Linked DNA regions of Homo sapiens: region 2 is linked to region 1. The links are contacts of gene promoters, found by promoter capture Hi-C in human tissues and cell types (Jung and others, 2019). All regions are on one chromosome and are shown on one strand. Each heading gives the region's core, a stretch centred on a gene start or on the middle of the fragment in contact. The rest is flanking DNA. Distances are from core to core; before and after follow the strand shown. Region 1 holds the start of ETNPPL (ethanolamine-phosphate phospho-lyase). Region 2 overlaps COL25A1 (collagen type XXV alpha 1 chain).

Region 1 (4,411 bases), core at 641-3,140:
GCACTGGGAATATTAACAACAAGAATCCATAAAGTTTTATGAAGGAAGTGTGACTATGACTTCACCAGGTCAAGGTGGTTTGAGAGTAGATATACAGTTGGCAATATCTTTCAGGCACAGAACTAGACCAAGATTACATAACTGGGATTTCTTGCAAGTCTCCAAAGTGCTTCCTGCTCTTCATTTATAAAACACGGAATTCTTTTTTTTTTCTTTTTTTTGTGGAGGGGGATGGAGTCTCACTCTGTTGCCCAGGCTGGAGTGCAGTGGCATGATCTCAACCCACTGCAACCTCTGCCTCCCAGGTTCAAGCAATTCTCCCTGCCTCAGCCTCCTGGGTAGCTGGGATTACAGGTGCCCACCACCACGCCCAGCTAATTTTTGTATTTTTTTAGTAGAGATGGGGTTTTGCTATGTTGGCCAGGCTGGTCTGGAACTCCAGACCTCAGGTGATTCGCCCAGTTTGGACTCCCAAAATGTTGGGATTACAGGCGTGAGTCACGGCGCCTGGCCTAAAATCTGGAATTAACACACTGTTCCTCATAGGACTCCATTTCTCTTTCTACCTTAGGCAATCCAATTCTACTCCTCCTGCAGTGCATGAATATATATTAATAACTTTTTTCAAGAGAAAGATCAGTTGCAAATACTTATCAAATGTGTTGATACATGCAAATTAGGCTTTCCCTGCTGCCCTTTCAAAACACAGAGAGAATAAAATGACCTATCCTTAACCCAATGACTAAGTGTTTGTGTGAACTTGAATAAACCTTCACCTTTCCTGTGCCTCACTGTTCTTATCTACAGAGCAGAGAAGTTAAACCAGATGACTTCTAGTTAAAATAATGTATGATTTAATGATTCAGTTAATTAAGATTCTATTGGGAGGCCGAGGCGGGGGGATCACGAGGTCAGGAGATCGAGACTATCCTGGCTAACATGGTGAAACCCCATCTCTACTAAAAATACAAAAATTAGCCGGGCGTAGTGACGGGCGCCTGTAGTCCCAGCTACTCGGGAGGCTGAGGCAGGAGAATGGCGTGAACCCGGGAGGCGGAGCTTGCAGTGAGCCGAGATTGCGCCACTGCACTCCAGCCTGGGTGACAGAGCCAGACTCCATCCTCAAAAAAAAAAAAAAAAAAAAAAAAAAAAAAAAAGTTTCTACCTGTGCACATATTTAGCTTCAGATATGATCTGTGTGAGAAGACCATCTTGAAGGAAGTCAAGAAATCTAAGAATGAGTCCCGTTTTCAGCATCAAGTGGATATATAATCATTAGAACAGGGAATAACCTCACTTTCCCCGTTCATTAAATGGGGTAACACTCGTGGTCATCTCTCAGGGTTGTTTTGAAGACTGAACAAGATAAGTCATGTGAATGTGTTTTGTAAGTTGTATAGTTAGAGGAATTAGAAGTGTAATCATTGTTAAAGGAGATGTTTGAAACACTGCATATATCATCACTGCCAATGGAGATAACAGGCTGAGTCCGGGTTATTTCTCGTTAGGACGCGTCCTTGTGCTGAGTAAATGGTAGGTTACCTTATCAGACTGCGCAGTGAGTCTTGATCCGGGAAGCGCCTAACTCCTGAATTTTTACCAGAAAATAAAGGACTACACTAAAAAGAAACCAGAAAGAACGTGGGAAGGAGGGAATTCGCAGGCAGAGGAGGAGGAAAAGCAAAGACGAGGCAAAGTTAGGAGAATGAAAGGCGAATTCAGAGGAATGATAGGGGCGGGTAGGGCCGAGCCGGCCTGGCAGGACAGGGTGGTGGCGAATGAGCTGCTAGCCCGGCGACCTGCCCGCGGCCCCGGCGGGGGAGGAGGAGGGGCTTGGCAAAGGGCAACGCCAGAGCCAGACTTAAAAGGGAGATGATCCTAGCTAGTTGACGCCACCGGTGACCTCCGACGCCCCGGGCAAGAGAACGCCAGGAGGGATAACGGGAGGAAGGCCGGCCGGGGCCGCCAAGGCAGTCCCAGGCTCGCGTAGGAGGCGCGCAGACCTTGCACCTTGCACCTTCGCAGCGCCCTGCACCCCGCCACCATGTGCGAGCTGTACAGTAAGCGGGACACTCTGGGGCTGAGGAAGAAGCACATCGGGTAAGGGCACCCTGGCCCGGAAGTAAGTGCAGAGAGGGGGCAATAACGAGTGCAGAAGGTGGAGAGAGAAAGCCGGCTAGGGAACAAACGATGCGCTGCAGCCGCACTCCGTGCCCGCCGCGCCTGTGCACGCGCCCCGCGCGCCTCCACCTGCAGGGGCCGCGCGGACTCCCAGAAACGCTCCTGGAACCCGGAACGCTGGGCTTCCTGCCCGCTCGAAAGTCCCCGGCTCGCTCTGCAGCCGGCGGACTAGCGGGGGCTGCCGGCCGGCTAGAGGGGTTGGTGGATGACGGCCAATAGCCCTAGCAGACACCATTCCAGGGATGGGAGATGGGTGGAAGAAGGATAGCGCTCCGCCACCCCCACACAACTCGAAAGTTTTTGGAAACTGTGAACTGAGAAATATTTTTTCATGATGGCTCCGCAAACAAACCAATTCTGACAATTTTTACTTAAAGTGAGCTTTTTCTTCTTGCATGCTTGGTTAAGTGATGAAGGGTTTATCTAGCCAATAGAAAAACTTGAAACCACCTTCTGTTAGAAAAGCAGAGACTTTATTTAGATCCCTCTTACCCAACTTGCTCTCCCAAGCTGTGTTCTTCCCAGCCTGCTTGTCTTGCCCCCGTCACAAACGACTTAGTAATATAAAGGTGAGTATATAAGACCGACAGGGGCTCTAGCTCTCGTTGGATGTCATATTCCCTGTGTGGACCTCTGTCAAATTAATTGTCTCTTCTATGAAAGTAGGAATAACATTCTACTTCACAGGAGCAAGAAGATGAGATTAATATGTTAGTGTTTTGTGCGTGGTTTTTAAAAAGATACGTGTAAATATAAATGATGATTAATGACCCCGAATACTGTAAAGTCAACCGTCTGCAATATTCACTTGAAATGAACGACTGCAGCCGGGCCAGTGGGCATGAGAGAGCACTTGGGGTTACAAGGAAGAAAACAATCCGCATCCTCTTCGGAGGAATGCTGGACAGTTTCTCAGACTGAAGCTCCTCACCCCAACTGGAGGGGTTTCTGGGTGGTTTGGAAGACTAGTTCCATCTCTCTCAGCCGCTAAGTGGGATCAAAATAATCCAGTTCTTTCCCCATTAATCAATCACTACCCTACTTTTTCTAATCACTCACTGCGTTAGTTTTCAATCTTAGTTAGATTCCGGTAAATGCCTAATGGTTTCTGACATGAGCAGAACAAATTTTCTAAAAGCACGAGTGTAGCCATGGGCTGACTGGATAAAGGAGAATTTTACCTGAAGTCTGACGGGCAAGGTGGAAAGTGTATTAAAAAGGCAATGTGAAGTCTGCAGCTTTCAGCTCACATCCTTAACAAAGTTTTTTTTTGGATTTTAACTTGTAGGTATAAACTAACAGCTGAGTTTGAACCAATAAGAAATTCTTATAAAATACTATTTTCATTTCAGCTGATGATGCTTAAAAAAAATCAATATATAACACAACCTTATGCAATTTTAAAATTTGAGGTTACCTACTGTTTGTAATAATCAAAATTCCTTCTAAACAGTTACATATCAATTTAGTATATTTCTACTACTAGAACTACCTCCAATGTGTGTGAGGGTTTTTTTGTATGTATGCAAAATCACCAAAATAAATAAATATATTTAACTTTAGTTCTTAAATGTTCATAAAGCCAAGATTAGAAGCCTTTGTGAAATTTCTATGTGCTAAAATGTATAATCCAGCCATTCATCCAAATAAAAGTATGGATGACCTTATTATGCTCAAAAAACATATTAAATGCTTAGAAGAATAATTGAATTTCACTATTTAATAATGGAAAATCCATTTGATACTGGACAAGTACCACTCAAAATACATGAAAATGAAAATAATCTATAAAACTTCCTGCGTAGTATTTAACTCTAGGTTATTTGCATTTAGCTTTCAGTGCTATTCATGTCTTTATACATTAGATTGAAGGGGAAACAGAGATGTCTACCTTGGGCTACAGCACAACACAGCCTACTTGCAAATTCTGGTTTTCTCATTTACTGTCTGTGTAGCCTTAAACCAGTTACTTAATTTCTCTGTGCCTTGGTCTCCTCACCTATAAGAGTGAGAAAGATAATAACCTCTCTTTCATAGGATTGTTGACAGGATTAAATAATATTTACAAAATATATAACAGCTTCTGACACATTAAGCCCCCCAAAAAAACTTGGTTATTTTTTTTCTGATAGAACAAAATTTCTCAAAGGAAAATTAGTTATTGGTCTGTGTGATTAGAACCATCAGAGAGTGGATTCCTGTGCCTCTAATAAATTGTCAAATCATGGCA
Region 2 (4,147 bases), core at 1,513-4,012, 64 kb before region 1:
TTCAAATCCCCGTGTTAATATTTCATTCCTAAAAGTTTTCAAGCTCGAATCATTAGAATGCTTTTTGGCTCTAAGTGACAAATTCAAAATGGCTTACACAATAAAGAAATACATTATTTTATATAAGAAAATATTCAAAGGAGGACTCTAGGTTTTGCTTGGGAGCCCTTTTCCACATGTTGGCATTGTCTTCTGACCACGGACAAGCTGGGCACAGTGGTCCAAGCATCCTCTCTGGTGAGACACTGGCAGAGAACAGAGAGACTACCTCATGTCTCTTCCTGAGCAGAGAGGAACCTTCCCCAGAGCTTCCCGGCTGATGCCCCTGACACCTCATTTGCCAGAACTGGGTCAGCTGTCCATTTCTGAGGCAGTCACTGGCAAGAGAAATGGAATTGTCGTTAATAGCTTAAGTAATTTTTGGGGGTGGGCTGTTCTAGAAGAGTAGTTTCACAGACAGCTGTTTTAGTGACAGCTTTATTCAAATAAGCCATAGTATATTTGTTTTAAGAATAAGACAAAGCCAAGATTCTCAAGTGAGAAGGGAATGGTTATATCAAAATAATCTATGGAGATTTTTCCAATTAGACCCACCCTAATCTGTGGAGTTATTTCAGTTATTTCAAACTAGACATAGTCCAGTTTATGTGGCTCCTCCCTTAAAACTCTCACCTCCCACTACACGTGCGTGTGTGGGCGCACACACACACACACAGATAGATAGATGATAGATAGATAGATAGATAGATAGATAGATAGATAGATAGATAGATACACACTTACACATACACACCTTACTAGTTATTTTGTTTGGTTGTTTTTTTAGAGATAGGGTCTCACCTTGTTCCCCAGGCTGGTCTCAAACTCCTGGCCTCAAATGATCCTCCTGCCTTGAACTCCTAAAGTGCAAGGCATAAGCCACTGCGCCCGTCCTTTGCTCCATTCTTAAAGGGACTGTTTTTGATATTTCACTATTAAGAAATATGCTGTAGATATTTTTTATAGATGTCTCTTAACAAATTAAGGAAATTCCCTTCTTAAAAAAATGTTTAATGTTTCATTTAAAATCTGGCCACTGTGCTGAGTGCAATTGCTTCTGCTTTGGTAATAACCGTAAAGTAATAATGAATAAAAGTTCAAACTTTTATCGTATTTATTTTCAGTAATCTCACCCATACCATATTGCCTCTAGGTGACAGTGTTAATTAGTTCCACTGACCCCTCAAATTTAGATAAAGAAAATGCTATCAGGGACCTGAAATTTGCTCACACGGGAATCTGGAGAAACACAGGCATATCAGGTGGCTCTGCAGGCACTGTTATCAGCTGAACCTGGCGTTTTGCCAAGAAAAAAGATTTGCTAACCTTTAAACTCCTTCAGGGGTATGATAAAAGGAGATAAGATTTTCTGTTTGGCTACTCATATAAAATCACCATTACTCCTGAAGTTTTCCTACTAAATACTGACAAACACTTCAATTTGGAGATGGCAGCAGCAGAAAACACCATTTGAAATACAGAACATCTCTTTCTTTATCATCACAATTATTCTATTCACAAGATTACCTCCAATAACACTTATTCTTTATAAGTGTTCAAGAATATCGTGTAAGATGGGGAAAGCTGTTCTATTTAAATAGGCACTTAGAGAGAAAGTGAGGAAGATAACATATACCTACCTTATCTGGCATTCAGAGGGGTTGAAAGTTTTTAAACCCTCTTTTTCAGGCCAGGCACGGTGGCTCACGCCTGTAATCCCAGCACTTTGGGAGGCTCAGGTGGGTGGATCACCTGAAATCAGGACTTCGAGACCAGCCCGGCCAACATGGTGAAACCCCATCTCTACTAAAAATACAAAAATTGGCCAGGCGTGGCGGGCACCTGTACTCCCAGCTACTCGGGAGGCTGAGGCAGAATTGCTTGAACCTGGGAGGTGGAGGTTGCAGTGAGCCGAGATTGTGCCACTGCACTCTAGCCCGGGCAACAGAGCAAGACTCTGTCTCAAAATAAAAAATAAATAAATCCTCTTTTTCAGAAAGGAAGCAAACTGTGTACATGATTATATAGATTTGCTTTGATTCATTCATTCAACAAACATTTACTGATGTGCCATACACTATTCTAAGCTGTAAGGATGCTATAGGGAACAACAAAGCTAGAGGCCCCAGAACCCTCCTGTGTATATTCTAGTGAGGGTAGCAGAGAATAAGCAGGTCATAAGCTTTATGGGTCTTCTGGTGTCTAAGGGCTGTGAAATAAAATATAGCTGGGGGTAGGAAGTGGGCAATCGAGAAAGGGTTTCCCTGAATAATTGTTTTTTGATAGAAGGAAAGGTATTTCAGGCCACACACTGTAGTTCAAGCCTGTAATCCCAACACTTTGGGAGTCCAAGGTGGGAGGATTGCTTGAGGCCCCAGAGTTCAAGACCAGCCTGGACAACATAGTAATCTCTACAAATAATTTAAAAACTACCTGGGCATAGTGGTGCTTGCCTGTAGTCCCAGCTACTCAGGAGGTCGAGGTGGGAGGATCACTTAGGCCCAGTAGTTTAAGGTTTCAGTGAGCCATGATCATGCCACTGCACTCCAGCCTGGATGAAAGAGGGAGACCCTGTCTCAAAAAAGAAAGACACTTTATTCTTACATTTAAAGGTGCTAACAAAATAATTAGTAACAAATAAATGTTTCACACTAATGCCAAAGAAACCTAAGTATGACATCTGAGATATGCAAATGCTTTTGCACAGCTGGCCAGCAGCAATCTTGTGCTGCCCCTCTTTCAAAGGTGATTTAGTAAAAGATGCTACTGTGGATTACTTTCCAAATATCACTGGCAGTGACTCTGCAAGAGGCTAAATCTTTGAGATTTTCATAGAATGGTCCTTGAAATAGAGGCTTTAGACATAGGGCATGAGAGAAAGTGTGTGAATGTAGGTGGGTGTGTATGATTTGAACTTTCTACTTTTCATTTTAGGGTGAAAAAGGAGCTATGGGAGAGCCTGGACCAAGAGGGCCCTATGGGCTGCCTGTGAGTTCCTGGTCACATGCACCTCCCCACCTTCCGCATGCATAGATGACCAGTCACTGACACGGTTAACCCTTCGCTTGTGGGGCAGACTAATGTTAGAGAAGAAACAACAATCCACTCATTATCTATAAATTCAGTACTTCCATGTCCTTCACAAATAGGTCATATTCAGTCTCTTGCCCTCTCATCATGTACAGACACATATCCAGGCACTTCACGAGATTGACAGGATCAGAGACTGTCTCTAGAATAAAGTATTAACTCGAGAACAGGATCCTAACTGTCAGAAGATGCCCTCCCTACATCATCTGACTGGACACTCATAACTGGCACTTCCTTGGAAAATCACTGGATCCAAAAATGGCTGTGGAAGCTTCACTGAAAACAGCCTTCTTCAGACTTTATCTGTTCCTATAGACTATTTACTAAAATGACTCTTGCTAGTAAAAATTATTCCCCCAATTACATTGATATTTATGACGACTTGATGTTTCTGACTTTCTAAATTACCGTGATGACAAATGATCTGCAGAACATAGAACACTGATAGTGCTCTGTCTTCTGAAAATTCTTCTCTTCTTATTATTATTATCATTTGAGATGGAGTCTTGCTCTTTTGCCTAGGCTGGAGTGCAGTGGCATGATCTTGGCTCACTGCAACCTCCACCTCCTGGGTTCAAGTGATTCTCCTGCCTCAGCCTCCCAAGTAGCTGGGATTACAGATGTGTGCCACCATGCCCAGCTAATTTTTGTATTTTTAGTAGAGATGGGGTTTCACTATGTTGGCCACGCTGGTCTCAAACTCCTGACCTCAAGTGATCCGCCCTTCTCGGCCTCTCAAAGTGCTCGATTTATAGGCGTGAGACACTGCGCCCGGCCTGAAAATTCTTAATTACACAGAATTCAAATTGAGACCTCTGGTTTGCTTTAAAAATATCATCTTGGGAATAATTATAATTGATTCATTAAGATAGGGTAGGACGACAGTAGAAGCGTACGTTGCATTAAGGGTTTTAACCTTTCCATATCTCACACATGCTCTTTATGAATTGAAATAATAAACATAAACCATGATTACCTCAGTGCTAAATCAAAAAAAAGATGCTGATTTTGAAATAGG

What was found. Contacts are between HindIII fragments. The study calls those that stand out against the background at their distance.
Region 2: a fragment that was not itself captured here is called in contact with the fragment with the promoter of ETNPPL in region 1 in 2 of the 25 tissues and cell types used here (adrenal gland and liver).

What each region holds. Positions count from the first base shown.
Region 1 is chr4:108,760,532-108,764,942 of GRCh38, reverse strand. It overlaps ETNPPL (ethanolamine-phosphate phospho-lyase), which reads left to right and starts at 1,890. Exons shown (of 13, transcript NM_031279.4): 1 at 1,890-2,100. The coding sequence starts at 2,045. The HindIII fragment of the contact is 8,640 bases long and covers 1-4,411 here.
Region 2 is chr4:108,826,015-108,830,161 of GRCh38, reverse strand. It overlaps COL25A1 (collagen type XXV alpha 1 chain), which reads left to right. Exons shown (of 38, transcript NM_198721.4): 33 at 2,974-3,027. Among named protein-coding and RNA genes, the nearest start is that of ETNPPL, 65 kb to the right of the region's middle. The HindIII fragment of the contact is 3,359 bases long and covers 1,083-4,147 here.